4 separate regions of the Homo sapiens genome follow, and regions 1, 2 and 4 are each linked to region 3. The links are contacts of gene promoters, found by promoter capture Hi-C in human tissues and cell types (Jung and others, 2019). All regions are on one chromosome and are shown on one strand. Each heading gives the region's core, a stretch centred on a gene start or on the middle of the fragment in contact. The rest is flanking DNA. Distances are from core to core; before and after follow the strand shown. Region 1 overlaps GRAP2 (GRB2 related adaptor protein 2). Region 2 has its middle 21 kb from the start of TNRC6B-DT. Region 3 holds the start of RPL3 (ribosomal protein L3). Region 4 holds the start of FAM83F (family with sequence similarity 83 member F).

Evidence for each region. Contacts are between HindIII fragments. The study calls those that stand out against the background at their distance.
Region 1: a fragment that was not itself captured here is called in contact with the fragment with the promoter of RPL3 in region 3 in 1 of the 25 tissues and cell types used here (spleen).
Region 2: a contact is called between a fragment that was not itself captured here and the fragment with the promoter of RPL3 in region 3, in 1 of the 25 tissues and cell types used here (lymphoblastoid cells).
Region 4: a contact is called between the fragment with the promoter of FAM83F here and the fragment with the promoter of RPL3 in region 3, in 2 of the 25 tissues and cell types used here (heart left ventricle and mesenchymal stem cells).

Annotation. Positions count from the first base shown.
Region 1 is chr22:39,935,069-39,938,170 of GRCh38, forward strand. The region is part of intron 1 of GRAP2 (GRB2 related adaptor protein 2); the gene reads left to right. Among named protein-coding and RNA genes, the nearest start is that of TMA7B, 24 kb to the right of the region's middle. The HindIII fragment of the contact is 9,705 bases long and covers 1-3,102 here.
Region 2 is chr22:40,063,885-40,066,711 of GRCh38, forward strand. It overlaps a transcript of TNRC6B not described here. Among named protein-coding and RNA genes, the nearest start is that of TNRC6B-DT, 21 kb to the left of the region's middle. The HindIII fragment of the contact is 3,031 bases long and covers 1-2,827 here.
Region 3 is chr22:39,317,930-39,320,895 of GRCh38, forward strand. RPL3 (ribosomal protein L3) reads right to left here and starts at 1,694. Exons shown (of 10, transcript NM_000967.4): 1 at 1,666-1,694; 2 at 471-663. The coding sequence starts at 1,668. SNORD43 (small nucleolar RNA, C/D box 43) reads right to left here and starts at 1,184; the gene lies at 1,123-1,184. RefSeq lists enhancers at 683-1,572, 1,439-1,488, 1,573-2,462, 1,879-2,298, 2,463-2,966. The HindIII fragment of the contact is 19,716 bases long and covers 696-2,966 here.
Region 4 is chr22:39,993,689-39,996,457 of GRCh38, forward strand. FAM83F (family with sequence similarity 83 member F) reads left to right here and starts at 1,266. Exons shown (of 5, transcript NM_138435.4): 1 at 1,266-1,843. The coding sequence starts at 1,355. It overlaps LOC124905155, which reads left to right. Exons shown (of 2, transcript XM_047441700.1): 2 at 660-1,080. The coding sequence ends at 1,080. RefSeq lists an enhancer at 981-1,614 and a silencer at 1,189-1,308. The HindIII fragment of the contact is 11,866 bases long and covers 1-2,769 here.

The DNA of each region.
Region 1 (3,102 bases), core at 546-3,045, 620 kb after region 3:
ATGACCAGGAGATCAAGAGTTGGAACCTTGTCACATGAAGGGTGGTCAAGGACTCTGGGGTTATTTCAGCTTAGAAATGGGAATTTGGGATTTGTGATTCTCATTTTCTGTTTCTTTTGTTCGTTCATTCTTTCTTTCATTCTTTCTTTTTCTTTCTTGTTGTGGTTCTTAGCACAGAATTCAGATGAAAGAGCTTTTGATTCAACGTAAACAATTCACCAAGCTGTCAGCTCACTCCAATCCCAGCCGTCCCCGATGCCCATTGTCTATCATCTCAATGAATTAGGGAAAAAGACTGACTTTCTGGGCCACTTCCAACTTTGAGAATCTAGGATAGGGGCACTATTTAATCAAAACTGGCAAGTAAAAAGAAAGAGAACTATTTTAAACAAGACAAATACAAGAGGTGTTGAACCAAACTCAAATTAGAAAGAACAAAATTTCCCAAAAATAAGAATATTATAATTCATTTGATGAAAGGAATTTGCCATATTATCCCTTTTACTGGCATTTTTTTAGTACCTTTACTTGTAAAAATGTCAGGCCCTCCCACTTTTCTGGGATAGACTTATCGAATGAAGCAAGGGGAGCTTCTCTATGGATAGATGATCACTTTTGCAAGCTTTGAGATCAGTGAGCTGAAAAAATGACCAGCATTCCAACAACAAATGAGGGCTTGGGAGCGTAAGTAAAAGTGACAGCAAGATTAAAGTAATTGTGGTCATGCCGTCCTCTGCTGACACTTTTGTGTTTTGCCCAGATGAGAATTAAGGTAGCCCAGGGCACAGGCAGTGAGGAAAAGGAGAGGGGCGCTGAGCGTATTTGCAGCATTTGTGAACCATGTCACAGCCCTGGCGAAAACAGAGCAAGAAGATGGAGGCTTTCAAATCCATGATAAATAAGCCATGCTTTCAGAGCCCAAATCAGTAAAAACAAACATTAAGTGAACAGAAGGGAAGAGGGAAAAAAAGAGAACATGAGGCCACCATAAAATCCTGGTGATATATTCCAGGGGAAATCATGATGTGAATAGAAAATGAGAAGTAAAAGAAAATGAAGCCTGGAGATTTGTAAAATGTCTGTCTGTCTGTCTGTCTCTCTCGACTGTCATTCCCATCTACCCCTGCCACCCCCACCCCGCCCTCCACCCTTCTGATGGGGTTCATTAGATGATTTCTGATTCAGGGGTGGGGGGCGGTATTTTTAATGCTTCACTTATGTTTGGGTTTTGCCAGCAGGATCCGAGGTGTTTCTGTAGACAATTGTTATTGCTTTAGGAAACAATAAGAATAAAATGAGGAAACATCAAGTGATACATCAGTCTAGCAGCAGAGTGAGGCTCGAAGTAGCATTTCCAGCGAGGTTGGTGGTCTCTTTTTGCCTTATTTTTGTTGTTTTGGATTGATGTTTTCATGGTGTCATTTTAATAAGAAAAGTGTCAGAGAATTAAAAGTGGAAGTATGCGAGATACACTTTCTCTAACTGGATTCATGGTAAGTTATTAATGTTTCAAGGAGAAAGAAAAGAACTTGGAAAAAGCAGAATATATTGTGGGGAAAGTTGATGAAGGGAAAGGTAAGAGAACTGTGACAAATGAGACACAGACAGAAGGAGAGAGAGAGAAAGAGGAAGAGAGAGAGACAGGGTGGTGGGGGGGACCGGCAGAAGAAAAGGAAAAGAGCGACAGTTTGTAAGTCTATTAGCTGAGATTGTTTCCATTTCTGCAATTGCCTTAAAGCGCATGATTGCTTGGTCTGAGGTCTGCCAGGTCGATTGCAGTCTTTACCTCTTTGACCAAGAAGTAATGGGCTTGAATTTCCTGGGTATGTGAAAATTGCTCTTGAATGTTTTGGCTAAAGGACAGCCACCCAGGAAGGTTGAGAGGGCCTAAGCTAGTGAGCAGTCATCCTGACCAAGTAGGAGGGATTTGGTTATGTTGCTCGTAGCAGGAGAGGCAGAGCAGCAAAGTGAAGAGAACACACAGCCTTAGGTGCCAACAGACATGTACTGAAATCTCTTGCCTCCATTTCCCACCTCTAAAATGCAAAGGATGATAGTAACAATAATAAATGTTGCAACGGGTGACCGATTATAAAGTTCTTGTCACCTGATAGACCATATCAATCCATGGTAACTTATTCTTAGCTGGTTCACGTTTCTAGGCATTGGCACAGTCTGGGTGGTGTGTGTCCCCTCAAAGGTAGCATCACAGTGACTGAGCTCTGCATAGATGGCAAAGTGTAGAAGCCTGGTCAGTTTTCTGTTTCTCCATCCACCATTTCTCCCCACTTCCCCTTGGTTAGTGCTGTCTTCTCTCTTTCCTCACTGAATTGTCTTGATTAGTGTCATACTTTCTGATAACACTGCAGCTAGGACTCCACAGGCAATAGGGAGAAGCTAGCGCCTGCCCAGGGAAAGTGAGGAAAAATAGGTGCTTGAGAGGCTGAAAAGTAGTATACGCTTGGTGGCCTTACACTTTGTAGAAACAGTTTTGGATTTGTCTCTACAAGAAAGGATTGTAGATAACCAGAATGCAAAAATGCTTTGAAGAAAGAGACATTGAGCATTGGAACCAAGTATTCTACGTCCTCTTCCCTGCAACACTGGGGACTAAGGATTATTATCTGCATTTCTGGTGAAGAAACTGAGGCACAGAGAAGATAAACTATGGTTCTCCGGCTACAAAGTAAGCAGCAGAGCCTAGAGTTTGAAGCCAGGTCTGACACCTAAGTCCCGTAGTAAACCTCCCACTGAGGTAGGCAAGCCTCGCCTTGCAGAGAGTGGCAAATTAGGGAAAAAAGAATCAAATGTGCTTGAGTTTAACAGAACATATACATTATACTTAAAGAGAAAGATACTTTTCTTACAAAAAGTTTGAGGACAAATGAGACTTCATGTGATGCGTCTTGCACTAAAAAAAAAAAGTTAGATTATATAAGCCAGACTGGCGTTGATTAAAGAAGAGCAAGGTAATAAATACGCATAAGAAGAAGGAAGTGGCTGGCTCTACCTTGGGCATCACCCAAGTTACAGGCAGGGGAGGGGATAGGCCCTGCATGGGGACAGTCTCCTGACTTGTCTTCTTCCTTCTCTACTTCCCTC
Region 2 (2,827 bases), core at 180-2,679, 750 kb after region 3:
TAGAGACAGGGTTTTGCTATGTTGCCTAGGTTGGTCTCGAACTCCTGGGCTCGAGTGATCCTCCCGCCTCAGCCTCCCAAAGTGCTGTGATTACAGGCCTGAGCCACTGCACCCAGCCCAATGTTAGTTTACATATAATTGTTTTCACAATTTTATTTTTGGTTTATTCACTGCTAATATGTAGAAATACAATGGATTTTAATACATTAATCTTGTATCCTGAAAACTTGCTGAACTCATTTATTAGTTGTGATAGTTTTTCATTGGATTCCTTAGGATTTTCTTTATACAGGATCATGTCATCTGCAAATAGGGATAGTTTAAATTCTTCCTTTTAAGTCTAGATGCTCTTTGTTTCATTTTCTGCCTAATTGTCCTCCAGTACAATGTTGGCCAAAAGTGGCAAGCCTGGATATTTATCTTGTTTTTGGTCTCAGGGGGACCACTATGATCTTCAGTCATTTGCCACTAAGTATGATGTTAGCTGATTTTTTTTTTTTTAAGATGGCCTTTATCGGGTTAAGGAAGTTCCTTTTTACTCCTAGTTTTGGGTGCATTTTTATTAAGAAAGGGTATTGAATTTTGTTAAATGCTTTTGCTGCTTCTATTGAGATGATCATCTAGTTTTTGTTATTTATTCTACTGATGTGGTATATTACATTGATTTTTGTATATTAAGCTAACTTTGCATTCCTGGGATAAATCCCACATGGTGATGGTGTATAATCCTTTTTTTTTTTTTTTTCTTTTTGAGACAGGGTCTCACTCTGTCGCCAGGTGGAAGTGTAGTGGCACGATCTCGGCTCACTGCAACCTCTGGCTCCTGGGTTCAAGCAATTCTCCTGCCTCAGCCTCCCGAGTAGCTGGGATTATAGGCATGTGCCACCACACCCGACTAATTTTTGTATTTTTAGTAGAGACAGGGTTTCACCATGTTGGCCAGGCTGGTCTTGAACTCCTGACCTCAGGTGATCTGCCCACCTCGGCCTTCCAAAGTGCTGGGATTACAGGCGTGAGCCACTGCACCTAGCCTATAATCCTTTTTTATAGATTGCTATATTTAACTTGCTAGTATATTTTGTTAAGGATTTTCACATCTATGTTCATAAGAGATAATGGTCTATAGCATTGTTTTTGTATGTGTGTGTTTTTTCTTGTGTCTTTTTCTAATGAGGGTAATACTGGTCTCATAGAATGAATTGGGAAGTGTTCCCTTCGTTTTTGGAGGGTGGGGGTGGAGGGAGGGTTTGTAAATAATTGATATTAATTTTTCTTTAAATATTTGATAGAATTCCCCAGTGAGCTCTGTTGCCTAGGCTGGAGTGGATCTTAGCCCACTGTAACCTTGAACTCCTAGGCTCAAGTGATCGTCCTGCCTCAGCCTTCTGAGTAGCTAAGACTACAGGTGTGTACCACCACACCCAGCTAATTATTTTGTTTTTGTGGAGGTAGGGTTTTGCTATTTTGCCCAGGCTGGTCTTGAACTCCTGGCGTCAAGCAACCCTCCCACCTTGTCCTCCCAAATCGTTACAACTACAGCCACCTCTCCTGGCACTGGGGTTTGCTTTATAGGAATTTTTTTTATTATGAATTTAGTTTATTATAGGCCTATTCAGATTTTCTGTTTCTTACAAAGTCAGTTTTGGTAGTTTGTGTCTTTCTAGGAATTTGTCTATTTCATCTAGGTTTTCTAATTTGTTGGCATACAGTTCATGTCTGGTGATTTTTATTGGATGCTAAACTTTGTAAGTTTTATATTATTGGATGGTGGATCTTTGTGTATCTCTGTAAATATTATTGAGCTTTGTTCTGGATCGACGCTGTTTGATCCATTTGGGTGTTGCTTTTAAGCTCTGTTAGATGGAAGCAGAACAGTACTTTGGATTAATGTTCTTCACTACTGAAGCAACTGAATCTTCTGAGTCTTCTACTTAGTGCCCCACGAATGATGGTTTTTACTCTGTCTGGTGAGATTAGGCACAATTCCTGGCCCCGTGTGAGTTCCAAAGATTGTTTCTTCTAATCATTTTGGGTAGTTATTTCCCCAGCTTAGGGCAGTTTTCTCACATAAACGTGCTGTTTTTGAACTCAGCTGAATACTCAGAGGGTCTCCTACAGATCTCTGGAGTTCTTTCTCTGTGCAGCTCTTTTCTCTCTTGGTACTACTGTATGCTGCAAATTCTGATTCCTTGGCCTTTTCAGAATCTAGCTCTGGCTCCTCAAGTAAAGGTATTCCTCTGAGTTCCCCCTGGGTTTCCCTCCCTGTTCTGTGACTGGGAAACTTTCCCTAGGCAGCAAGCTAGGCCAGTCATAGGCCACCTTCTTCATTTGCCGTGTCTCAGGGATCACATCACTGTCCCATGCTGCCTGTGGCCAGTATCTTAAAAACTGTTTTATATATTTCATCCAGTTTCTTAGTTGTTTCAGGTATGAGGATAAATATTGCTCTCGTTACTTCACCTTTTCTGGAAGCGGAAGTCTTGCCTTTTCTTAAAATATCAGGAATTCTTTAGGGGTTGCTTCCAGAGTATGAGATATTCTTTGGAATTTCCGTAGGGGGAATATCTTCCTTCTTTCAGGATGGATTTGATTTTGAGGAGCAACCAGGAGTATGTTTTCAGGTCTGGATATGTGATTTCTCATCTGGGTAATACTGTTTGAGGTCCAAAATGAGCTCAGTGTAATAAGGCAGCTTTCCTTGTGTGATTTGTAAACTAGTTTGGAAACAAAATAAGAGTTGCAAAGTATTTTCATTGGTAACCTGATTAAGATAAGGATAAAACTTCTTAGGGGTGTGTATCTTGAAAAATAACTTTAGTTTGAATGC
Region 3 (2,966 bases), core at 444-2,943:
TAGCTCTGAGCTCAGAGATTAGTCAGTATCAACTGCCTAACATTAATGTCTCCATGGCTCAGCAACCAGTGCTGTTAGACATCTCTAAGTAGAACACACACAGGTAAGTGGCCATTATTCAAGCTTTCAGGTGAAAAAAACATGAATGAGGCAGTTCTTATGCCAGCCTCAGCAGCTCCAACCCCCCACACTAGTGTTAACTTCTCTTTGCTAAGGTTCCTGGCAAATTTACTATGCTCTGAAATCAATACCCCACACCGCACCTAAAGCAAACAGTGCTGACCATCTGTAGCCTTGGAATATTAGTTTTCAAGTTAAGCATTCCCATTCTGCTGTCGCAGCAGTTCTGACAACGTGTAACTCCTGCTTAAAAAAAAAAGTCTGCCCTCTGCTAACAGCTTGACTCCATCTCTACAATTTCCCTCCCCCTCCACTCCTATTCCCCCAACTTTTAGGATGTCTGTACATACTGGATCCCGGCCTGTCGACTTCCCGCACGATGTGAGTCATGCCAGCCTTGTATCCCAGGAAGGCTGTGAGGTGGACCGGCTTGGACGGGTCATCCTTAGGGAAGCTCTTCACCTTCCCACGATGCCTGCTGCTGCGCTTCCGAGGCAGGAAGCCGAGGGACCCATGTCTGGGAGCGGAGAACTTTCTGTGAGACTAGGTGGGAAAAAAATCACCGTCAGCACCCAAACCAAAGCAGTGCCCCCTTCTCTAGTTCCCAGCTGCTTAAGTTCCAAATCTCAGCAATACTGAAGAATCCTGACCAGACACCCAGCAAGCCGAATAAAAAGGTCATTATCTCTTCCAGGCTCGCACGTGTCAAGAATGCTTTTGTATTCGACAAAATTTAAGCTGAATCTTATTTCAAATCCTCTCAACCTGTAAGAAAACGACCCATTTTTTTTATCTAACCACACAAAAATACACTAAGTAGTGGCACTAAAAACTGCTTAACAGGCAGCTTTATATGCCAATTAGCAAGGTTTTGACCGCTAAAGAAAGGGACTCCCGGGACAAACGCTGGGTAGCAGCTAGCAATGTTAAGCTATAGGCTGCCTCCGGTGCCCGGACACTAATTACACTGATACACACAGGCCAAAGAACTCCGCAGAGCCAAATCAGAACGTGACAATCAGCACACAGTTTCTGTCCGCCCGTCAATAAGTTCATCATCTGTGGTTTCTGCGAGCTCCAGAGGCCTTCGGAGTGCACCAGCGGCCCCAGATATTCAGGAGGACTCCACAACACTCCCCTCCCCCAAGCTTCTTTACCTCCCAATGAGAACGGCGCCGAGAACCTCCACCCAAGGTCCTTCTACCCAGACAAGCAGGTTATGGGCCCTAATCCCAACTAATGATAGAATTGGTGAGGTCGAAACTTAGAAATGACTCATGGCTTTAAAAACGCCGGGCCTCCAAGCCTGCTCCCACCCTTACGGCCTCTCTCTGGCCGACCTGCAGGCCCAAAGCCAGTCCTCCAAGCGCTCTTCACAAGCCTCTCGACTTTCCAGAAAATAGGCCAGACTGAAGTCCCCGCTGGGTCGCCCGTGCCCCTAAAGCAAACCCCCGGCGCCGGCCAAGACGGGATGGCGGCGATGCGTCGCGGATTCAGCCGTGCCGACGCCGGTGACAATGAAACGGCCGCCATTACAACACATACCATCACGCCATCAAATCCCGCCGGTAGAGGCCGGTCGGCCTTACGGGTCCGCTATATAAAGCCAAATCTGGCCCCGCCCCTTCCGGCGTGCGAGCGCGCCCCCGCGGCAGACGACAGGTCGGGGGCACGTACCGAGCGCCATTTCCACGCACGCTCTTCCGCTCCTAGCTTTCGTTCAGAAGTTGACGTCAGCTTCGGAGACAGAAATTACACACTCTACGGCGAGGGGTCGGGTTCAAACTTAGTGAAAAGCCGCGGAGAGGTGGGCTAAGGGTGGGTGAGCCACAAATCTACGGCGTCCGGCAGCAGCCAAATTTGATAATAACGAAGAAAAATGGCTGCGTCGCTTCTCCTCCTGTGATATGCAGCTATCTCTGGAATTAGCGAAGAAAGACTGAAACTCTCGTTTCCTGGCTCCCACGCTGGTTTTGCGGCGACACCAATTTACCTTTAATACCTTTAATCTCGGGCATCCCTCCCTCAAGCCCTATCTCTGCCATTTCTCCCATGCTAATGCAGTGGCCCGCGCTTGATTCTGAGGGTCAGGAGCGTCCCAAGCCTGCGGAACGGCCTCACGACCTCTGGTCATGCCGAGTCCAGCTGCTCAGCCTCCCGGAGCCCCACGCCTTCCAGACCTATGCATCAGCGAGGGCTTTCGCTGATCTCTGCCTAGGCTCCAGGGTGACTCGGATCCTGACCGATTCCCTGCTTCCAGGCTGGTCCCTTACAAATCTCTTTTTTGAGACGGAGTCTCGCTCTGTCGCAGTGGCGCGATCTCAGCTCACTGCAAGCTCCGCCTACCGGTTCCCAGTTCAAGCAGTTCTCCTGCCTCAGCCTCCCGAGTAGCTGGGATTACAGGAATGCGCCACCATGCCTGGCTAATTTTTTTTTTTTTTTTTTTTGTATTTTTAGTGGAGACGGTGTTTCACCATGTTGGCCAGGCTGGTCTTGAACTCCTGATCTCGTGATCCGCCCGCCTCGGCCTCCCAAAGTGCTGGGATTACAGGTGTGAGCCACCGCGCCTGGCCCCCTACAAATCTTTCTAAGAATCAAGTATCTCGTTACTTTCCATGGCCGCCTCGTTGTTTCCTCGGAATTAAGCATCAACTTCAGCGGCCACCAAAGACGCTCCCCTAACCGTCTACTTCAGCCTCATGGCTGCGCCAGAGCACACGCTCTCATATCACCTGCTTCCTCTGTCCCACCCTGTCATCTTCTTTAATTCTGGGCCTGGCCTTTGCTCCCACCGTCGTTTGAAAAGCATTCTCTCGGCCAGGCGCGGTGGCTCACGCCTGTAATCC
Region 4 (2,769 bases), core at 16-2,515, 680 kb after region 3:
AGAGCATGAAAGGAAGGCCTAGAAATGGTAAGTGACCTTTTCAAATCCCCTGGGGTGAAAACCAGGTCCCCAATAACCTGTCGTTTCACAAGAAAAGGAGAAAGGGTAAAGGCGGCCGTGATGTCAGCGAAAGACCTCCAAGACAGAAAACCTTGCAGTCCCCGTGCTCTGCCTCTTTCACGGGAGACCTGGGCAACGCACACGTTGCTAGGCCTCAATTTCTTCAACTGTAAAATGAGGGGGTTGGAGGAGCTTGAAAAGCTCCTTCCAGCTCTGAGATGCTGCGCTATAAAGTGAGAGAAATGTGAACCTTTAGTTGTTATGATCTGAAAATATTTTGAATGTGGAGAATCAAATTGTAGAGCAGTGCATGAACAACATAATATGTTAATGACTAAGACGATTGTATTTAATCCGATGGGAAACAGCAGAGCTGCTGCCACCGCTGCTGTGTGTGTGCGTGTGTGTGGTGTGCACGCACGTGCGGTTTCCTTCCTTGAGCTCAAACATACATTTTGAATCACTAATATAGTAATCATGTCTCTGGCAGCCTATCTTGCCCAAACACACACGGAGAGACACCACACACCCTACTTCAAATTAAGGTGGGGGCGGGGGGAATTCCACTGCTGCTCTTTACATCATTTCTGTTTGGATAGCTATTTTTTAAAAGAAAGTTTTACAGTGAAGGTGTTGGACTCCCAGCCCAGAAGGGCTCTGATCTCAGAACTGGGACGCAAGGGTGGGGAGCTCGAGCTCTCATTAGCATTTCGCTTTTGCACACCCCCTGCCCGCTCCTCAGCCGTCACAATCCCGTCCTGCAGCAGGCCCCCCCACCAACACCGGACCCTCGACGGGGAAGGGGTCAGCTCGGCGGCCCCAGAGGCCACTGGGCCAGAACACGTGCTCCGGACTCCACGTGCGCGGAAAATGAACTCGTACCCGCGACGCGGCCGGCGGGGGCGGATGGCAGCGAGGGCCGGACAGCGAACCTTTACCCCGCGGAGGAGTCGGGGCCGGAGCCCGCACGTGGGTCTGCGACGGCCCCGCCCCCTGGGGGCGTCCCCTCAGGGACTCTAGCCCCGGCTGGTGGGCCCTGCAGGCCCGGGCCCGACCGCGTCCGCCAGGCCGCCCGGAGGTCCCGGCGAGCCCGGCGGAGGCGGCGGCCCCTCCCCGCCCGACGGCCACGCCCGCGCGGATTGGCCGCTCCCCGACGGCGGGGCGGGGCGGGACGGGCCGGGGCAGAGCTCGCGGCCAGGTGAGGCGCCCCGCCCCTCGGCGGCTCCAGGTGCGGCTGTGGGACCTCGGACCGCGGCGGGGCCGGGGCCAGGGCCGGGGCCGGGGCCGGGGCGCCATGGCCGAGTCCCAGCTGAACTGCCTGGACGAGGCGCACGTGAACGAGAAGGTGACCGAGGCGCAGGCCGCCTTCTACTACTGCGAGCGGCGGCGGGCCGCGCTGGAGGCGCTGCTGGGCGGCGGCGAGCAGGCCTACCGCGAGCGGCTCAAGGAGGAGCAGCTGCGGGACTTCCTCTCCAGCCCGGAGCGCCAGGCCCTGCGGGCCGCCTGGAGCCCCTACGAGGACGCCGTCCCCGCCGCCAACGCCCGGGGCAAGAGCAAGGCCAAGGCCAAGGCCCCCGCGCCGGCGCCGGCTGAGTCCGGCGAGTCCCTGGCCTACTGGCCCGACCGTTCCGACACCGAGGTGCCTCCTCTGGACCTGGGCTGGACGGACACTGGTTTCTACCGCGGCGTGAGCCGGGTCACGCTCTTCACCCACCCGCCCAAGGACGAGAAGGCGCCGCACCTCAAGCAGGTGGTCAGGCAGATGATCCAACAGGCCCAGAAGGTAGGCCCCCGCCTTCGCCCCCACACCGCTGGGACCTCGGCCCCAGTCCCCTGGACCGGGCCCCACCTCCCAGGCAGGGCCCGGGGCAGGCCGCCCTGAGCACCCTCTGGAAAATGGGCCCCAACCCGCCCCTACTTCCTGGGGCTGCAGTGAGGCCTGTAGAGCGAATGGCTGGGAACGTGTTTGGCAAATTACAAGGTGCTGGACAGATGTCAGCCGTCGGTATTCCAGCGTTCAGAGGCACTGGCTCTGCTCTGTACTTCTGAAACTTCCCTGTCCAGCCTTCCTCCCCAGGGAAGACTGGGGGCCGAGGCCCTGTGGTTAAAATGCACCACTCAAAGGTCTTGATGATAACCTACGTGCTGCCCAGAACATATCCCGAGCCGCTTTCTCATGTGATCGTCAAAACAACTTCAGGGAGTGGGTGGCGGTGACCTTCCCGGTCCCACCTCTGCCATGCTGCTCCTTGGACCACCCCTCTCCTCCCATAGTCAAAGCTGAGCTGGCGCCCTCACAGTCACAGCCTCTCCTGGGCCGGGTACTAGGCCCCAGCTGCCTGGAATGAATGGGGGACGGGGTATATTGAGGACCTACTGTGTGCCTGGCCCTGTGCTGGGCGCCTTGGCACAGCAGGTCACCTGACTCGGCAGCTCAGGAAAGGGCTCCTACTTAGCATATGTGTCCTGCTTGAGAGTTGGAAGGAGGGGCTGTTTCCAGGGTGGCTGGTGAGGCCAGTCCACTGTGGAACAGGTGGAAGACTTTAATCTTTATGCCTTTGGGTGGGAGTCCTGGGCAGCTTCCAGATCAAATGTAGGATGCCCCACTACATTTGAACTTTCAATAAACAACACATAACTTTTTAGTATCAGCTTATCCCAAACATGACATGAGACGTACTGATACTGAAAAATTCTTCGTTGTGTATC